Linked DNA regions of Homo sapiens: region 2 is linked to region 1. Evidence: promoter capture Hi-C in human tissues and cell types (Jung and others, 2019). All regions are on one chromosome and are shown on one strand. Each heading gives the region's core, a stretch centred on a gene start or on the middle of the fragment in contact. The rest is flanking DNA. Distances are from core to core; before and after follow the strand shown.

Region 1 (3,702 bases), core at 231-2,730:
GGAAGAGAGACCCACACAACTTCTCCCTCATCCCACAGCAGCCAGTGTTTTGGGGGCACTACAAGTGAGCTGAATCTCATCTTCCATTCTAGTAAGTAAAGAGATAGAACCTAAATTAGAAAAAGAAATTGCATGTAACACTTTATGACATGCACTGGCTAAATAAGAACTAGAATCCATTTACATTATATAAATGAATTATTTCACAACTTGAAGATAAACTCAAGAAAAAAAAGGGTTAAAAATATTTGAAGGCGGGGTGCAGTGGCTCACGCCTGTAATACCAACATTTTAGGAGGCCAAGGTGGGTGGATCACCTGAGGTCAGGAGTTCCACACCAGCCTGGCCAACATGGTGAAACCCTGTCGCTACTAAAAACACAGAAGTTAGCTGGGTGTGGTGGCACACACCTGTAATCCCAGCTACTCAGGAGGCTGAGGCAGGAGAATTGCTTGAACCCGGGAGGCAGAGGTTGCAGTGAGCCGGGATCATGTAACTGCACTCCAGCCTGGGCGACAGAGCGAGACTCTTTCTCAAAAAAAAAAAAAAAAAAAAAAAATTAAAAATGATTATCTTAGGTACCAGGAATTGGCGTGTGGAGGGGCCAGGCAGGGGACAGCCAATTTCCATTACAATAAGTGCTTGATAATATTTTTTTAAATGTTTACATGTGTTACTTTTATTTCAAAATGAAAGCCAGCTACACACCCACAGGTGCAGTGTGATATGACAGTCTTTTAATAAAGGCTATATTAAAAGAATAGACACAAAAGTGTTGACAGTGGTTATCTTTGAGGGGAGGGATTATAGGCGTCTTACTTTTTGCTTGTATCTGTTTTTGTTTTCTGCACTGCGCGTGTGTTGCTTTTAAATACGCATTTCAAGCGCCTGTGTTTTAGGATGAGCACCACCGGTTCGCTATGGCCTGGAATGATTCCACCCGTGGCCTTTTAGGAATCTGTTGAAAAATGAGTGTGCACTGAGGGAGCTGAGGAGCAAGTGAAGATGACTCTCTCAAGGAATCCATCTGAGGGCCAGGAGGCAGGTCAAGGGAGGGAAGGGCGGGAGAAGCCTTTTTTTTTGGTTTTTTTTTTTTTAATTTGAGACAGGGTCTCGCTCTGTCACCCAGGCTAGAGTACAGTGGCGTGATCTCGGCTCACTACAACCTCTGCCTCCTGGGTTCAAGCGATTCTTCTGCCTCAGCCTCCCTAGTAGCTGGGACTTCAGGCGCACGCCACCACACCCAGGTAATTTTTGTATTTTTAGTAAGGATGGAGTTTCGCTATGTTGGCCAGGCTGGTCTTAAACTGCTGACCTCGGGTGATTCTCCCACCTCGGCCTCCCAGTGTCCCGGGATTACAAGAGTGAGTCACCGCGCCTGGCCTAGCAGAAGCTTTTCTTTCACTTGCTTTTGCTTTTTAGAACTGGGAGGGCCCACGCCCCACGTGCAGCGACGCAAGGGCGACGCAAGGGTGACGCACGCCACGGCCGTTGGGAGCCTGAGACTCAAACATGGCAGCGCCACCTTCTCCAGGAAGGACGGCCGACCAAGCAGACCAGGTATGCACCTTCCTCTTCAAAAAGCCTGGACGGAAAGGGGCTGCAGGCCTCAGAAAGCGCCCGGCCTGCGACCCCGAGCACGGAGAGAGCAGCAGCAGCGGGGACGAGGGCGACACAGTGGCTCAGCCCCCGCGGGTGGCACCGAGGCCCCGGGGCCTCCACAGCTGGCAGAAGGCGGCTCACGGCGACAGGAGGGGCGAGGAGGCGGCGCCTGAGAGCCTCGACGTGGTGTACAGGTCCACCCGCTCGGCGAAGCCTGTGGGGCCAGAGGACATGGGGGCCACCGCTGACTTCGAGCAGGACACCGAGAAGGAGCACCATACGCCGACCATCCTCAAGTGCAGCCAGCGGGTCCAGGAGGCACTGCGGGGTCGGGAGCACGACCACATCTACCGGGGAATCCACAGCTACCTGAGGTACCTGAAGCCCAAGGACACGTCCATGGGCAACTCCTCCTCGGGGATGGCGAGGAAGGGCCCCATACGTGCGCCAGGGCATCTGCGCGCCACTGTGCGCTGGGATTACCAGCCTGACATCTGCAAGGACTACAAGGAGACTGGCTTCTGTGGCTTCGGGGACAGCTGCAAATTCCTCCACGACCGTTCCGATTACAAGCTCGGGTGGGAGATTGAACGGGAGCTTGAAGAGGGTCGCTACTGTATCTGCGAGGACGAAAACCATGAAGTGGGAAGCGAGGAAGAGGAAATACCATTCAGGTGTTTCATATGTCGCCAGGCCTTCCAAAACCCAGTCGTCACCAAGTGCAGGCATTATTTCTGCGAGAGCTGCGCGCTGGAGCACTTCCGGGCCACCCCGCGCTGCTACATCTGTGACCAGCCAACCGGCGGCATCTTTAACCCCGCCAAAGAACTGATGGCGAAACTGCAAAAGCTTCAGGCTGCAGAAGGTGGGGGCAAGTCCCATTTCACAGAAGACCCCCATGAGTGTCCAATTCCCATGGCTTAGGTTTCCCATAATTCTCACATTTAAATAAATTTTTTTGTTCTTTTAGGAAAAAAGAGATAAGAAAGACTCAAGTCTGTATGTACACTGGGGAGAAGCAGCCTGTTGAGTAAGATGAGAGAGATGACAGTCTTCCTGCAATCCCATGCCTGAGTATGTAACCAAAAGAATTGAAATCCGGATCTCAAAGAGGTATGTGCACTCCCATGTTCACTGCAGAATTATTTGCAAAAGCCAAGAGGTGTAAACAACCCAAGTGTCCATGGATGGATGAATGGACAAACAAAATGCGATACACACACACAATGGAATGCTATTAAGCCTTAACGGGAAGGAAATCCTTTTAAAGATTTAAACTGATCCTTTTAAGGATCACATGCTACAACTAGAATGAACCTTGAAGACGACACTGCTAAGTGAAATAAACTAGTCACAAAATGACCAATACGCTGTATGATTTTTCACTAATATAAGGTATCTAGAGTTGTCAAAATTACATAAAAAGTCGAATGGTGGTTGTCAGGGGTTAGGAAGAGCGGGAGTGGGGAGCTGTTGTTTAATGGGTACAGAGCTTGAGTTTTGCTAAATGAAAAAGTTATAAAGCTCTGTTACACATCAATATATATATACCTAATATGAGTGAACACTTAAAAATGGTTAAGGGTACATTTTATGTTTTGTACTATAATTAATTTTTTTTTTCAAAAAAGCTAAAAAGAGATATCAGAAAAGGAAGAAATGATGGAACCAAGACCGGGAGGGAGTGGAGAGGATGGGGTTCAAGAGTTACCAAAACAGCAAATAAAGGATATCAGTTAAGAACCAAGGAGGGGAGGAGTTGACAGAAGAATATCCACGCTGAAGTTTGGATTTGATTTTGTTTGGCTGATGTTAACATCCTCTCCCTTAAAATGGCAATGTATTCCTCTCCCAAGACAAACACCAACAGATCCACGCTGAGTTCCTCACAGCTGATGAGTTCCTTACAAGGAACTGACACAGATTATGTAAATTTTCATAAGAGCCTATCTCATATATCAACTTTGGCTGTGAATTCCTTGAAGACTGAAACCATGTCTCACATACTTCCTGTTTTTTAATGGCCAACAGGTAGCTCAATAAAAAGTCAGTTAGTGAAAAGTCAGTCAAACCAAGCTACCTAGCAGTCGGCTATGCAAG
Region 2 (3,693 bases), core at 1,152-3,651, 210 kb before region 1:
AGCCCTTGTTGTAGTTCTCACGGTGCAGCTCGTGAAGAAACATTTAGCAACTGAGCAGGACCTTTCTAGTTAAGGGGAAAGTCACAGAGGAGGGAGGATGTGGCTGCGCCCTCCCATGCTCTGAATAGCAAGCTATGGTCTGACAATATGAAATCAATTCATGTACTTTAGGTAATTATTTTCTGGATCAGTTCTATAACAGAGGCAATTACCACTCATCCGCTCACTCTATCAAAGCGGTAAGTTCAGAGGAAAAGGCCTGCCCTCAACAGTAGAAGGAACTGACTTTAACAGCATCTTGACACGTCTCTTTCATCTCTTCCCTCTCAGTCTGCCTATTCCCCTTTTCCCCATCAAACAGGCACTGAAATGCTCAGGTCCTGAAATTCATGAGACTGTGTAAATATAGATTCTATTCCCAGGCACATCCAGCTCTTCTTCAAAATACTCCAGGTTAGCACAGAAAAGCTCTAGAGATCCACATTCTGAATCAGAGAGAGAACTGGGCTATTTCTTACATGGTTTTCAAATACTAACCATTGACTGTCCAGGAAAATTATGGGATTCATCTCCAAAAAAAAAACCTCCTGAAAAAAACCTCCTGAACATGACATTTATAGAGACAGGGCATGAGAAAGCACCACAGATTTGTGGTAGAAGGAAGATGCAGGGATGGCCACAGAAGCAGGTTTATTTCAGCAAAATCAAAACAAAATACTGAAATAATCTGGATGGTTCTCAATAGGCAATCAGAGAAATACAGTGTAGTATCTTCATACTACTGTATGGCCCTTAAAACAGATCTCAAAAAAAAGGTAGTATTAAAAAAGCAAGATGCAGAATTATATATGGGAGTACTTATATGAATGAAAAGAACACACTCAGAGCAGTTTTTCTTTTTTCTCTTTTTTTTTTTTGGGACAGGATCTCGCTCTGTGGCCCAGAGATGGAGGGCAGTGGCACAATCTTGGCTCACTGCAGCCTTGACCTCCCAGGCTCAAGCAATCGTCCTACCTCAGCCTCCCAAGTAGCTGGGACCACAGGCATGCACCACCACATCCAGCTAATTTTTTTTTTTTTTTTTTTTTTTTTTTGGGTAGAGATGAGCTTTCGTCATGTTACCCAGGCTGGTCTCAAACTCCTGAGCTCAAGTGATCCACCCACTTCGGCATCCCAAAGTGCTGGGATTACAGGCATGTGCCATTGTGCCCGGCCTCCAGAGCAATTCTACACACTCTTTTGGGATGCAGTAATATGCATACAGAAAGGAGCCTAAATGTGGCAGCTGCCTCTGGGGAGGGGAGAAGGGAAATTACCAGAGCTGGTGGTTCAAGGGGGTTTTACCATGTCTGTAACGAGAGCTGCAAATAAAAGAAGAAAAAACAACCCCAGAAACAAATGTGTCCAACTGTTAATGGCCGTTAATTCTAAGTAGTAGGAATCTGGGTGTTTGCTGACTTCCCTGTACTTTATTGTAATTTTTAAATGTATGAAAATGAAAAAAGTTTTTTAAAAACGCTACATGCAGTAACTAGTTCTTGAGGCCTATCCTCCGCTCCTTTACCCTCCTTGGGTTCTGCTGCTCCTCCTTGGAGCATTGGGCTTGGGAGCTGGCTGGCTGGCCAGAAACTGCTTAGCAGCTATGAGACCTGGACTAGTTATTTAACCTACTGGGGACTCAGTATCTCCATCTTTATAAAGGGAATAAAAGAGCACTGACCTCACAGAGCTGAGGTGAAGACTCAATGAGTTCACTCAGGCCCAGTGCTCGGAACAGCCTGGCACACACTAAGGGCTACAAGTGTTTGATAACACCAACAACAATAATAATAATAAATCCTGTTTCTGGCTGGGCATGGTGACTCTTGCCTGTAATCCCAGCACTTTGGGAGGCCAAGGCGGGAAGATGGCTTGAGCCCAGGAGTTTGAGACCAGCCCTGGCAACATAGGCAGACCCCATCTCTACAAAAATTTAGCTGGGAGTGGTGGTGGGCACCTGTGGTCCCAGCTACTCAGGAGGCTGAGGTGGGAGGATTGATCGAGTCCCAGAGGCTGAGGCTGCAGTGGGCTGTGATCACACCACTGCACTCCAGCCTGGGCAACAGAGCAAGACCCTGTTTTGAGAAAGAAAAAATCCTGTTTCTGCTCATCCAGATTTACTTGATTTAATTAAAATGTTCATAGACATGCTTTCAATACAAATCCCAAAATATTGAAGGACTCACCAGTGAGCTAGTTTTTATCATGCTTCATCCCCCACTGTGATGTCCTAAGCCCTTCTCTCCTTCCCCAGTATGTCCTCTCCCGCCTCCCCTAGTCCTTTCTGTCTGTTCTCATCTCACTCTCGAGGGTGTGCCCCTGGGCTCTAAAACCTTCCTCTCTAACACTGGACTTGCTGAGGATGACTGAGACTATCATTTACAACTCAAGGGACATCAAGTCTGAAGTCTGGGTAAAGAAATATTTAGCAGCAACAAACTGTTACCTGGCGAGTCTGAGCCTTCTCAGACTGGAAGTAGCATTGAAGCTTCTCTTACCTTTCAAACTGCACCTTCTTATGTCCTCCTTCTTTAACATAGTCGAGAACCTGCTTCTGAGTCCGACCACTGAAACAGAGACCACAACAGGGAAGGGGAGAAATACCAAGGCATTCTCATTTAAACACACAAATGATGCTTCAGGGCTTCACTTCCCCTCCTTCCCTAACTGGGAGAGATGCAGGGTTGCTTGGCTAGCCAGGACTAAAAGCAATCCTGACAGACTCTGTATTTTTGGGTCCACTCAGTCTCTTGATATTTTCCTTGAATATACAGAAAAAATGTTCAATTAACTAAGCCCACTTGATAACTGTGTTTGGTTACTAAGCAACCATCCCAAGAGCCTGTGCCTTTAGTGAAGGCAGGGATCACTGGGCTCAGTGCCTGGAACAGTATTTGACACATGGCAGACAATGATTTGTTAAAAATGAATGGAAAAGTTCACCAATAACATCCAAGTCCACATATTCTATGAAGCAACACCAAATGTTAGTAAGACACTGTACTTCTACTGAGAGAGAAATCCTTTCTGAGTTAGAGACTCCCGCTAGGCGTTTACCATGACTGGGTGGCTTTGCCTGGTGCCTCTGCTGTTCAAACAGAGCCCACTGGGATTAAGATACAAGCGCCCCCGCTTGGCCATAGCTCCTGGAGGCCAATGAGCGTTCACCTCCCTGACCTGCTGTGTGTCACAGCGGCTGTGAGAGGCGGGAGGAAAAACGTGCACCCAGCAAACAGAGGCACAAAGTGGCGACCTCACCTGAACCGAAATGATGACCCCCGGCTAAAGAGGACGGGCTTGGGCTTTGGTTTGGGCTCTTCAAAAAGTCTAAAGAAGGCATGATGTTCAACACAGATTTTCCAGAAGGACTTGCAGAAATCCCGACTGGCCATCAGGAATTCCAAGGTATCCTGGTACGCACTCTAAAAAGGGAAAATACAACGGTGGTTTTTTCCATTACCCATAGATACACCACTGAAATAGGAGAAAAGGGGCAGAAGATAGCTTTGTCCGATAAAGTTTTCGCTGTGTATTTTATTATAGCATGACCATCAGTGCAAAGACTTACTAAACTCTAGTTATTCTTAAGGACAAGATGTGGTCCCTAGTCCATCATTTTCTTCCCCACAGAATCTCTTAGACGGGTAACAGAAA

The links. Contacts are between HindIII fragments. The study calls those that stand out against the background at their distance.
Region 2: a fragment that was not itself captured here is called in contact with the fragment with the promoter of RNF113B in region 1 in 2 of the 25 tissues and cell types used here (IMR-90 fibroblasts and dorsolateral prefrontal cortex).

The regions. Positions count from the first base shown.
Region 1 is chr13:98,175,047-98,178,748 of GRCh38, reverse strand. RNF113B (ring finger protein 113B) reads left to right here and starts at 1,480. Exons shown (of 2, transcript NM_178861.5): 1 at 1,480-2,467; 2 at 2,573-2,964. The coding sequence starts at 1,513. The coding sequence ends at 2,586. The region is part of intron 1 of FARP1 (FERM, ARH/RhoGEF and pleckstrin domain protein 1); the gene reads right to left. The HindIII fragment of the contact is 2,632 bases long and covers 676-3,307 here.
Region 2 is chr13:98,389,725-98,393,417 of GRCh38, reverse strand. It overlaps FARP1 (FERM, ARH/RhoGEF and pleckstrin domain protein 1), which reads right to left. Exons shown (of 27, transcript NM_005766.4): 10 at 3,298-3,461; 11 at 2,538-2,606. Among named protein-coding and RNA genes, the nearest start is that of FARP1-AS1, 44 kb to the left of the region's middle. The HindIII fragment of the contact is 3,357 bases long and covers 723-3,693 here.